2 separate regions of the Homo sapiens genome follow, and region 2 is linked to region 1. The links are contacts of gene promoters, found by promoter capture Hi-C in human tissues and cell types (Jung and others, 2019). All regions are on one chromosome and are shown on one strand. The core of a region is centred on a gene start or on the middle of the fragment in contact, and the rest is flanking DNA. Distances in the headings are between cores, read along the strand shown.

Region 1 (7,007 bases), core at 1,795-4,294:
AATAGGAATTTAATTGAGAACCAGTGGGAGAGCACTGAAGCATTCATGCATGTGAAATCAGATGAACACCCACAATGTGGAATTTCCTAAGGAAAGTTATTCTGGCAGAGAAATACAGACCAGGTTGAGTGCCAGTAACTTTTAAGCTAAGATGTGGAGCTATCTTCCTAATAAGTAACGAGCTAAAGGTCCCTAAAGAAAAGTGAGGCCAATATTTTCAACTCTATATTTTCAAACATTTTAAAAACATCAGCTCAGAGTTATATACAATTCCCTTCCTCTGTAAGATATTAATCTTCCTTAACTTTGATTCCATATAATAATGTTTATGTTTGAAAGGCACATGCACAACTTATTTAGGTAAATCTAAAATAAACAGCAAGACAGAATAACTAATTTATCTATGAAAAGAAATTGAAATCAGGAGCTGATTTCTATTCAGTAATTATAATACAAGTCTTCCTGAAACATTTCCTTTCAACTGGCCTACTTAAAACCATGTCAATTTTCCACTTCTTGTGCAATTCTAGATGACAGTGTGAATTCAGCTTCAGTTTCTACTCATAAAGGTTAAAGAGACGCTTTCTAACACCTATCCTGTATCAGGTCAACTCAATTACCTTTCAAAGTTGCCTAAATCGTGAAATATTGGTGGTTCAAATACATGAATTCTGCACATTTCAGAATAGATGTACATAGGTGTACATAAATGTATATCACATCATATAGTATGCAAATACATTTACTCCTGGAGGCTTTCTAAAATGTAAAGCTAAAGCTGAATCTTCACCTTCCAGTAATTTTATAATAATTTTCCCCATCATATAGGGATTTGGAATTCTGATATCAGTCATAGCCATTGGGTTCTGTTTTCTTATTCGCAAAATGGAGTTAATTATAATATCTGCCTCATGTAATTGTTGAGAAGAGTAATATAGGAAGATTGCCTGAAAACAGTAACCGCTCAATAAATGCTAACTATTGTTCTATCATTATCATCATTTTTGTTATTGCTGTTATTATTGTTCAGCAATTTTTTTAAAAATTAGACAATTAGAAAAATGCTTTCTATTAGACAGATGGCTCATGCTCATTCATTGCATATATTTTGAAATTTAGCTAGAGCTATGATAAATTAGTCTTTATTTTGCTATATTTAAGCTAGACTGCTATAATATTTTATTTTATAACATCCCTGAAAAACTCAGCAAGCTCTTCGTGAGTGCAAAATGTTACAACTTGAACATTACTTTCCAAGAAGATGACTCAACATATTCTACACTAGTTGAAAGACAATACTCCAGGCTTTCTGATGTAAAAGGATTTAAAAACCCTTGAGCATATGGTGTTTGCACTGCTTTTGTTACTATGGCCTACAATTGTTGGGGTACCTATTCATTTATTTCAAACTGATGTGTCACATAAAAGGAACAACAACAAAAACACAACATGCAGTGAAATTCTATGTAGAGGAATGTAGCTTCAGTCACTGTGTGTCTTAATTAGAAAGAATAGCCGGGCGTAGTGGCTCATGCCTGTAATCCCAGCACTTTAGGATACTGAGGTGGGCATATCACTGGAGGTCAGGACTTTGAGACCAGCCTGGCCAACATGGCAAAATCATGTCTCTACTAAAAATACAAAATTAGCTGGGTGTGGTGGCGTGTGCTTGTAATCCCAGCTACTCAGGAGGCTGAGGCAGGAGAATCACTTGGACCCAGGAGGCAGAGGTTGCAGTGAGCCAAGAAGGCACCACGGCACTCCAGCCTGGGTGACAGAGCAAGACTCTGTCTCAAAACAAACAAACAAACAAACAAACAAACAAACAAACTCCTGCAGTAAGGATTAACTGTGGGTTTATGCCTGGAGATCATTTTAAGGTTCTGTATCTCACAGTTCATGCTCATTGGTTGCTTTCTTTTAGTCATAATCAATTTCCAAGGTGCTAGTTTCACTGCTCAGAGGATGAACAACTTAATGAAATTAGGGTAGTTTCTGTTATAATACTGCTAGTACATGAAACTTAATCATAAAGGGTTGAACAAAAACACAATACAAAGTTTTTATGCATTTCTTTCAAACTAAGTCTTACTAAAAATGGTAAACACTTCCCTGATGCTTCAAAAACAGAGAACTTTACTGATATCTATTAATATTTTATGGGTAATAAATCCAAAATGCAAATTTTAAACAAAGCTGGAACCTATTTTTAATTGCTCACGCTGAACAACCTTTGAACAGCAAGGTCCTTGTAAAAGACATTCATTCATTCATTTACTCATTCATACAGCAAACATTTCAGAGCACGCATTTTACGCCAGGCATGATGTTAGGATACAGAAATGATGACATGGTCTATGTCTTACAGGGAGCTTGGATTGTTTCTCTCCCTAATATCCTACTCCTTGACGTTCAATGTCTTCAATCCACAGTAATATTATGCGTTAAGGAGACAACAACCCGTATCACAAATGATAAAATGTGAACTCTGAATTAGCAGTCATCATCTCCCACTTGACTACAAGAAGATGTCCTCAAACTATACACTTTATTAGGGAATATATATTAGAATAAAGCAAAACAAAACAAAAAATCTGTTATTGGGAAACCAAGTGGGATCTTAGTCTTTACTTTCTCACCAGAGTGGGGAAGGATAGGGTGACCCGGTGCAGCGGACAGGGAACCACTTTGGAACTACCTGTCTTCTAACTGCCTGCAGGAGATGATTTCTTGGTTACTTATTAGGGCTTTTTATAAGCAACATTCCTCATTCCTCGCGTGGGCAGGAAGAAAGGAGCTCCTGTTTTCCCAGCTTACTCCATCTTCACCTGAGGGTCATCTCCCTTCCTTCCCACCCAGCCACTGAACGAGAAAAGCTTTAACTGGGCAGACCTGAATGATTCTCCTCCTACCTAAGCAGTTGTGGCTCAGCCCCGCGGGGACAGGGCGAAGCTCTGGACTCCTCCCAGCCACAGCATCTGCCAACACCGGCTTCCCAACGTCCCACTGCGAGGCCTGATCAGGCTGCTTGCTCGCGGGGACGCCAGGACTTGAAACGTCCCGTGCCACGAGGCCCATCGCGCCCACAAGTGGCGCGGGTCACTGGCACCTCCCTAGTCTTTCCTCTTGAGTTGCACTTGATGTTTCCAATAATAAAAACAAGGTTATTTATATTTTTCCGTTCAGATTCTAAAAGCAATATGATCAATAAAATAATCTGGAAGATACAGAAAGATGTACATAAAATAAAAATTATCTGTATTCTAAAGAGAAGCACTGAAAACATTTTCATGTATATCTTTGCAGTCTCTTTACTATGAATAGATTAAAAAAAAATCATACCATTCTGTCTCTTTCACACAAAACTACACAGATACAATATAGACTTTATACATACATTTTATAAAGTTTTGTATTTGTTCTCTTTTAAAGAAAATTATTTTAAACATTTTACTCTAAAACCATTTATGAGATCTCATAAGCTCCTACCTATGTATGTTTTAGAGTAAAATATGTATATTATATAGAATATATAAATGTATATTATATATCAAATGTATCATGTATTATACTAACATGTTATATGATAATATTATATAACATGTTATGTTATATATGTAATTATGTATATTTAAACATAAACGCACTTTACCTTCTATGCATTTTAGGCAGCACATTACTGATACATTTGAAGAAATCTATGTACCCCTAAGGACTGCGTCTTCCTCCTAGCCACTGTTGTGACTTGTATGACAAACATCCCTTGCTTTCCTTTATAGCTTAACAAATCATACATGCATCACTTTTTATTGAAATATGACATATATCCAGAAAAATGAATGAACTGCAGTGTGTTGAATAAATTATCACAACGTGAACCCATCAGAATAACCACCACCTCAATAAAAAATTAAATTCTTAGCACCCCAGAAACCCCTTCTAATTTCCATTCCTTTTCATTCACCGTAGGTAGTGACTGTTGTGGTTTCTAACACCACAGTTTAGTTTTGTCTGTTTTTGAACATAATAAAAATAGTCCAGTTATGGTTTTACTACTCTATGCTGCCATTGATTACAGTAGTATAATCTATCTTTTACAAAGTACACTAAATATGATGACTAAATTTCACTTCTTGGGTAAAAAGTTTGTCTTATTCACACTTTCCCACCCCCACTCTCTCCTACCTCTCTGCAAAAAACGGGGAAACTACGCTTCAAGGTAAGGTGTAAGGATTGATTGAGATGAGGTGCATGAAGCCTCTGCTGTGTGATAACAGGCTTTTCAATCCCTCTGCAGTAGTCATAATCTCCCTACTACCTCTCACTGATGTATCTCCATCCTGCCTTCAAAGCTCTGCTTCCTTAAAAAATTTTTTTAACCTAGTAAACAGTTCTGCAAGTTTTGATTGTAAGTGCCACACAATTCAAGATTTAAAACATTACTTTCACCCATAAAAATAACACTATGTCTCTGTAGTCAACTCAGCGGATCATTTCCACACCCTGGCATCTACTGATGTGTTTTTTGTCCCTTTAGTGTTATCTTTTCCAAAGGTCAAATAAATGGAATTATATAGCATGTAGTCTTTTGAATCAGACTTCTTTCATTCAGCATATTACATATGAGATTCACATTGCTGTGGTGTTTATCAGGAGTTCAGTCCTGTTTATTGCTGAGTAATGTTCTATTTGTGTGCATATACCACAGTTTATCTATTCACTAGTTGAGGAATATTTGGGGGTGGTCATGAATAAAGCTCCTATAAATATTTGTATACGTATGTTTGTGTAAATTTAAGTTTTACTTTACTTAAATACCTACTGATCAGATTGCTGGGCCATATGGGGTTTAACTTCATAAGAAACAGCCAAATTATTTTCCAAAATTTCTGTACCATTTTGCTTTCCCATCAGCAATACATGAGATTTCCAGTTACTCTCACATCCTCACCAGCACTTGGTTTTGTCAGATTTTCTTTTCATTTTAAAAATAATATTTCCTTTGGGTGTCTCCTTGTGGTTTTAATTTTCATTCCCTAATAGCAAATGACATTGAGTATATTTTCATGTGCTTATTTGCCATTTATATCTTCTTTGTTGAAGTGCCTGGCCCAATCTTTTGCTCATTTTAAAATAAATGGATTGTTTTATTACTTGGTTTTTTACTTGGTTTATTTTTACTTGGTTTATTACTTCTTTTATTCTAAATATAAGCCCTTTATCAGACTTGTGTTTTAAGTATGTTTTTCCAGTCTGTGCTTGTCTCTTTATTCTCTAAGCCACATCTTTCAAGGAGTAGAAGGTCCTAACTTTGATACATTTCATTTACCTTTTTTATGGCTTGTGTCTTTGATTTTATGTCTAAGAAATCTTTTTCTAACCCCAAGTCACAAAGATTTTTCTCCTAAGTTTTCATTTGAGAGCTTCCTAGTTTTTAGGTTTTACATTTACGATATGATCATTTATGACTTAATTTTTGTGTGGGGTGCAAGTTATGAGTTGAGGTTAATTTCTTTTTGCAAATAGAGGTCCAGTTGTTCCTGCACCATTTGTTGAAAAGACCATCCTTTTTCCATTGAATGGCCTTTGTACCTTTGTTGAAAAATCAATGCACAAGTCTATTTCTGTACTCTCTAGTCTGTTCTATTGATCTATATGTTTGCTTTTTCTTCAATATCACACTGTCCTGGTTACTATAGCTTTATAAAGTTCTAATTTCAGATAGTGCATATCCTTCAACTTTGTTCTTCTTTTCCAAAAGTATTTTGTATATTCTAATTTCTTTGCTTTTCCATGTAAATTCTAGAATCACCTTGTTGATTTTTATCGAAAATATCTTGTTACAATTTTGATTGGAATTGTTGAAATCTATAGAACAATTTAGGAAAAACTGACATTTTAGCAAATGAGTCTTCCAATCCATTATCACTGCATACAGGCATATATCAGAGATATTGTGGGTTTGGTTCCCAACCACTATAATTAAGTGAATATTGCGATAAAGTGAGTCACATTAAGTTTTTGGTTTCCCAAAAGCAAAAACTGCACATAAAAATTATGTTTATGCTGTACTGTAGTCTATTAAGTGTGCAATAGAATTATGTCTAAAAAATACATTCCATATTTAAAAATACATTATTGCTAAAAAATGCTGATAATCATTTGAGATTTCAGTGAGTTACAATCTTATTGCTGATTTAGAGTCTTGCCTCAATGTTAATGGCTACTGATTGATCAGGATGGTGATTGCTGATGGTTGAGGTAACTGTGGTAATTTCTTAAAATATGACAGTGAAGTTTGTTGCATTGATAATTTTTTTTTCACAGAAGATTTCTCTGCAGCATGTGATGCTGTTTGATAGTATTTTACCCACAGAAGAACTTATTTCAAAATTGGAGTCAATCCTCTCAAACTCTGCAGCTGCTTTATCCAATAAGTTTACAGAATATTCAAAATCTTTTGTTGTCCTTTCAACAATGTTCAAAGCATCTTCCCTAAGAGGAGACTCTATCTCAAGAAACTACTTTCTTTGTTCATCCATAAGAAGCAACTCTGTATCCATTCAAGTTGTATCATGGGATTGCAGCAATTCAGTCACATCTTCAAGCTCCACTTCTAATTCTAGATCCTTTCTATTTCTAACATATCTGCAGTTAACTTCTCCACTGAAGTCTTGAACCCCTGAAAGTCATTCATGAGAGTTAGAATCAACTTCTTCCAAGCCCCTGTAGTTAATGTTGATATTTTGGCCTCCTCACATGAATTGCAAATATTCCTAATGGCACTTAGACTAGTCAATCATTTCCAGAAGGCTTTCAATTTAGTTTGTCCAGATCCACCAGGGGAATCACTATCTATGGCAGCTATAGCCTTACAAAATGCACTTCTTTAATAATAAGACTGGAAAATCTAAATGACTTCTTGATCCAGAATGGATATTGTGTTAGCAGGCATGAAAACAACATTAATCTCCTTGTACATTCCCATTAGAGTTCTTGGGTGACTA
Region 2 (6,385 bases), core at 606-3,105, 53 kb before region 1:
TATTTAAGAAGTCATTCAGGAGCAGGTTGTTCAATTTCCATGTAGTTGCATGGTTTTGAGTGAGTTTCTTAATCTTGAGTTCTAATTTGATTGTGCTGTGGTCTAAGAGACTTATGATTTCAGCTCTTTTGCATTTGCTGAGGAGTGTTTTATTTCCAATAATGTGATCAATTTTAGAGCAAATGCCATGTGGAGCCAAGAAGAATGTATATTCTGTTGTTTTTGGGTGGAGATTTCTGTAGCTATCTGCCAGGTCCCCTTTATCCAGAGCTGAGTTCAAGTCCTGAATATCATTGTTAATTTTCTGTCTTGATGATCTAATATTGACAGTGGGGTGTTGAAGTCTCCCACTGTTACTGTGTGGGACTCTAAGTCTCATTGTAGGTCTCTAAGAACTTGCTTTATGAATCTGGGTGCTCCTGTATTAGGTGCATATATATTTAGGATAGTTAGCTTTTGTTGTTGAATTGAGCCCATTACATTAATGCAATGCCCGTCTTTGTCTTTTTTGATCTTTGTTGGTTTGAAGTCTATTTCATCAGAAACTAGGGTTGCAACCCCTGCTTTTTTCTGCATTCCATTTGCTTGGTAAAGTTTCCTCCATCCCTTTATTTTGAGCCTATGTGTGTCTTTGTATGTGAGATGGGTCTCCTGATTACAGCACACTGATGGGTCTTAATTCTATCCAGCTTGCTATTCTGTGTCTTTTAATTGGCACATTTAGCCCATTTACATTTAAGGTTAATATTGCTATGTGTGAATTTGATCCGGTCATCATGATGCTAGCTGGTTACTTTGCAGACTTGTTAATGTAGTTGCTTCATCGTGTCATTGGTCTGTGTACTTCATTGTGTTTTTGTAGTGGCTGGTACTGGTTTTTCCTTTCCATATTTAGTGCTTCCTTCAGGAGCTCTTGCAAGGGAGGCCTGGTGGTGATGAATTTCCTCAGCATTTGCTTGTCTGAAAAGGATTTTATTTCTCCTTCCCTTATGAAGCTTAGTTTGGTTGGATATGAAATTCTGGGATGGAAATTCTTTGCTTTAAGAATGTTGAATATTGGCCTCCAATCTCTTCTGGCTTGTAGGGTTTCCACGGAGAGGTCTGCTGTTAGTCTGATGGGCTTCCCATTGTAGATGACTTGACCTTTCTTTCTGGTTGCCCTTAATATTTTTTTCTCCAATTTGACCTTGGAGAATCTGATGATTAGCATTTTCTTTCCGTCTTTCTTTCTTTCTTTCTTTCTTTCTTTCTTTCTTTCTTTCTTTCTTTCTTTCTTTCTTTCTTTCTTTCTGTCTTTTCTTTTTTTTTTTTTTTTGAGATGGAGTCTTGCACTGTTGCCAGGCTGAACTGCAGTGGTGTGATCTCAGCTCACTGCAACCTCCGCCTCCCAGGTTCAAGCAATTCTCCTGCCTCAGCCTCCCAAGTAGCTGGTACTACAGGTGTGCACTACCATGCCCAGCTAATTTTTGTATTTTTAGTAGAGACGGGGTTTCACCATGTTGGCCAGGATGCTCTCTATCTCTTGACCTCATGATCCGACCACCTTGGCCTCCCAAAGTGCTGGGATTACAGGTGTAAGCCACTGCACTTGGTCGCCAAAGCATAGTTTTATAAGTTAATGATACTTATTTTAATTTGTTTTTGTTTACTCATGCTGTATACCTTGATGTAGCTTTATTTAGAAACATATTTTATATGGAATTTTTACACATATGTGTGTATTTAAGCTGAATTTTATACACACTTATGATTATATAGATTTGTATATACATAAATGTATTTTTTTGTGTATGTTTAATTTTTTTGGTTGTTTACCAAGATGGATTTAGACATGCTGGAAAAAAATCAGAGGAAAGGAACTGTATAGGTATTAAATTTGAAACTTACCTTGTGAAAAATGAGTAAAGGAGCTAAGGACTTCTAGCCTGGAGAAAACTCAGATTATATTTCATGGATGTCCTAGGTACAAAGTGCCTTCCCATAGGCAAGAACATAAACATTCATTTACTCACTCAACAAATGTTTCTTAAAAGCCTACTGTGTTGTAGGAGCATGTGCAAGGGCTGGGGAAGAAATGAGATGGTATTGAACACTGAAGCTGTTGTGATGGCTGGGATTATAAACAGAGCATGGAATATTCTGGAAGGCAGATTTTGGTGAATTCAGGTTAAACATTTCTCCTGGTCAAAGCTGTCCAAGGATGAACGGACCACCCCAGAATGAACTGAATTCCCTTTCCTGCTGTATGACCCACTGGCTGGGATGGTATTTTATAAAGCAGATGTGTAGTTGGACCAGGTGACCCTTGAACTTTGAGATCCCCGATTTCTCATGCCTAAATAAGAGATAGGTTCTCCAGAGAAGATCAAAGAGGGAAAATATGGCTCAGAATACATCCATAGAGAATTGGTTTGGGTCTAGGGGAAGAACTTATTTCAGAGTAATAATTCTCTCTGGTTGTGAATGGAAGGTAGAGGAAACACTGATGTGAAGACATGCGTCCTCTGTGGTGCACTTCCTTCTCCTCCAGAGGCAGGAGGCCACATCAAATGGCTTCTGCAAGTTTATTTTAGCTTCACTATACAAATGTTCTTATCTGAGGATGGCTGAGGAAATTGGTACCTGAAAGGAAACTTCAGGAAATAACTGGGAAGCGGATGAGGCAGTGACTGTGAGGAGTTAACAGCTGTAATGGAGTGCATGATTGCCTGTTATCAGTGACAGCAGTCAGTGAAGATACGGATAAGGGCCCATTAGCTTCTGCGGGAAAATGAACCAGAGGAGGCCCTGAAAAGGGGAGCCTGTGACTTGAGGGGACCTGAAGACATGGTGGTGGTGGATTGTGTCAGGAATGTGAACGACGAGGACAAGGAGCTGTACCTTGTAAGGTGTTTCTTATGGTGAACCTTGTTGAGATGTGGAGTGAGAAAAGCACTGAATTGGAAATAATGGGGATGAAGGAAGGGATTGGAACACCAGGCAGGAGGAAACGGGAAGGTGCTGGTAAACTGCGGAAGCACTACTCCTCCAGGACTCAGCACATGGGCCCTTACTGGAAGACAGGGCCTAAGCCGTGGCTGAGATTATGACAACTGCTCAGGAATTCTGACTTGAGCGTGTTGTAAATTGTGGATTATAATCACACTTCTTGTTTTTCAACTGGATACTGTTTTCTACTAAAAAGCCTGCTTTTAACAGGTGCTAAAGAACTACCTCAAAGAAAATTCTGAAACAAAATAAAACAAAGAGGAAGAAATCCCAGAAAAAATGTTGATATAGTTTGGATGTGTCCCTATCCAACTGTCATACTGAAATGTAAATCCCAATGTTGAAAGTAGGGCTTGGTGAGAGCTGATTGGATCATGAGGTCAGATTTCTCATGGATGGTTTAGCACCATTCCTCTTGGCACTGTTCTCATGATAGTGAGTGGCTTGTCATGAGACTGTTTAAAAGTGTGTAGCACCTCCCTCACCCCACCCTACTCCTGCTTTGTCATGTGATGTGCCTGATCCCCTTTCACCTTCTGCAATAATTGTAAGCTTCCAGAGGCTTCCCCAGAAGCCAATGCCTGGTATGCTTCCTGTACAGCCTGCAGAACTGTGAGCCAATTAAACCTCTTTTCCAATAAATTACCCAGTCTCAGGTATTTCTTTACAGCAATGCAAGAATGGAATGATGCTAAAGTCTTACATTTATGAGTTTGGCGCTTCCACAAATACTGCATCACCCTGAGATCAGAAATAGGGTAACATAATTTTATCCTTTTTTTGCAAATGAGGAAATTGAAGCTTAAAGCTCACAGACATCAGCTGAGGGGGAGCCAGATTGAAAATGCAGGTTTTCTGATTGCAGTTCCTAAATGCCTTCCACTGAATTGCGGTAGCATTTTACCTGTCAAGAAAAGCTGCTGCAGTTTGTCATGCTCCTTGGCAACTCCTAAGTGCTTCTTTGCCAGTATATTCAAATGGATACATTTAACATAGGACCAATGATCTGTGATAACACAAGGATATGGTAAAAGTAGAGACGGTGCTTTACTTCAGTTTTTCTGAGCCATGAATGGGACCAGAAGAGTGGCAAGATTGCATGTAATCACTACACATGTAGAGTATAAATACAATTTAGTTTGCTTCTGGGCACCTCTCTTTTTTGAATAAAGACTGCTAACTTTCCCTTGATCTGACATCTTAATGTTGGTTTCAGGCCTATTAGGTGGGAGGACATTGACAACTCACCTTACATATTACAGCTTCTGGGAAAAAAAAAGTTGCTCAAAGAATATGTCTTTCTGATATATGTCTACCACCATCACTTCTGCACAAAGATGATAGGGCATATTTCTTTTTTCTTCTGACCTAGCTCCTTTTTTATCATTAGATAGCTTAATATTTTTCTTGTAACCTTCTTTGTCCTTAAAACTAAAAACATATGTAAGCAGTAGCTTTAACTTAGTAGACTAATGTCAGTAAGAAGAGAGAATAGACCTATTAGTAAATTCATAAATGTTTATACTTTTAATGTCAAATATAATCATTAATTTATTTGACTTTTTTTTTTAACTTGCTGCAGTCATTACTTGCTCTTCCAATAGGTTTGGATTTAATGTGTAGAAATTATTTTGTCTGCTTTCCACTTCTTACTGACATTTCACATCAAGTTAATATTGGCTCTTGGTTTTTCTTCATAATTATCTGTTTGTATCAGGACCCTAATTAATGAATTTGCTAATATTTGTTTCCTCATTGTAAAGTGAGGTCAAGCTGTCTTTTGTAGCCAAAAAGTCAACATATTTTCATATAGAATTGTCCAATGATAAGACAGTAATAAGGAACACTTGCAAGACATTTTTCTAAGTGCTAGAAAAATGTTTAAATGAAATGTATTAATAAATGAAGGTTGAGTTGAACAAGAAGGTGGAAAAATGGTATTTGAAGAGAGGAAATCAAATCTTTTCATATAAAACCAATTGATTTTCAAATGATTTTGAAGGAACTAGCCCCTACGTTTGAGAAACTATAGGCCAGGTTATTTATAAAATAAAGATGCAGCATAATTTTCCATGGGTCTTTATAGCTTTTGCATGTCTTGTCAACAAGACAGTAACCACCCTTTGTTCTAGATTATCTTTTCCAGAATATTTATATAGAGAATAGCCTGGGAAGAGGCAGGTAGTGTCTCCCTCCATAAAAAAGGACAGGCATGCTTACTGCCCACTATAAAAGATCTAGGTTACCTAAGCTTGAAGTTCCTCTCCTGCACAATCCTTGTTGTGTGCAACCATTCATCAAGACCCATCTGGATCAGCCCTGTGGGATAAGCAGAATTGATGCAAATATGCTGATGCTCATACTGCTTGTGGTGCCATCAGCAATAATATTCTTTGTGACCCAGGAGTTTCTATCTCTTAAATACTGCCATCCATGAACTCTGGCAAGCTATTTTGTCAGCTTGCAAGTCAAGTAATATCTCATAGTCTTCACAGTTCTTGACAAGCCAGTAATTGAGAAGAAAGCAATTTAGCACAAAGTGTTCTGCATTAGCCAGAGGCTGTGGTAGGCAGAATAATGTCTCCTCAAAGATGTCTATATCCTACTCCCTGGAACCTGTGGCTACGTTATGCAACATGGCAAAGGAGAATGAAAGCTGCACATAGAATTAAGGTTGTTAATCAGATAAACAGATTATTTTAGATTATTGGAGTGGGCTCAATATAATCACAAAGTTTCTTTGAATGTGAAATAGAGATACAGAAGAGTCAGTGTCAAACTGGCTTTGAAGACGGAGGAAGGGTCCAACAGCCAAAGATTATAGATGGTCCCTAGAAGCTGGAAAAAGCCAAAACCCAGATTCTCCCCTAGAGTCTACCCAAGGAATTTAACCCTGCAAACACCTTGATTTTAGCCCAGTGAGACCCATTTTGGACTGTAAGATAATAAACTGTATTGTTTTAGCCACTAAATTTGTGGTAACTTGTTAGAAATTTCTAGTTAACCACAGAAAACAAATACAGAGGAGACAGTTAAACATTTCAGACAAAAAAGGTTTTGTTTCTTTTCTCATTGCCTATTTGGTTTATGCTTATCCTTTGGATTTCAGCTTAAATATTCTGCCTTTTCTGAGAGTTCCTGTCTTCTTTTTCTGAAGTAGTCCCCTCCTGTTATTCTCTATCATTGTACTGTATTTCCTTTTTGTAGCACTTTCCACAAATTGCAATTAAAATACAGTTTTATTGTAATTTTTATGCACCTAAAACACACACACACACACACACACACACACACACACACATATATATATATATGTTTCAAGTTATGATTGACAGTTATCTCTTTCTGTTTTGGGTGAAAGTCTATCCCCAATTCTAAGACTATGTTCTTCTTACAT

What was found. The method cuts DNA at HindIII sites, captures the fragments that hold promoters and counts their contacts. A contact is called where the count stands out against the background at its distance.
Region 2: a contact is called between a fragment that was not itself captured here and the fragment with the promoter of SPATA16 in region 1, in 2 of the 25 tissues and cell types used here (bladder and pancreas).

The regions. Positions count from the first base shown.
Region 1 is chr3:173,138,191-173,145,197 of GRCh38, forward strand. It overlaps SPATA16 (spermatogenesis associated 16), which reads right to left and starts at 3,045. Exons shown (of 11, transcript NM_031955.6): 1 at 2,913-3,045. The region is part of intron 1 of LOC105374220 (a long non-coding RNA gene); the gene reads left to right. RefSeq lists an enhancer at 2,531-3,032. The HindIII fragment of the contact is 14,900 bases long and covers 1,110-7,007 here.
Region 2 is chr3:173,086,789-173,093,173 of GRCh38, forward strand. All of the region lies in intron 2 of SPATA16 (spermatogenesis associated 16), which reads right to left. Among named protein-coding and RNA genes, the nearest start is that of SPATA16, 51 kb to the right of the region's middle. The HindIII fragment of the contact is 3,618 bases long and covers 47-3,664 here.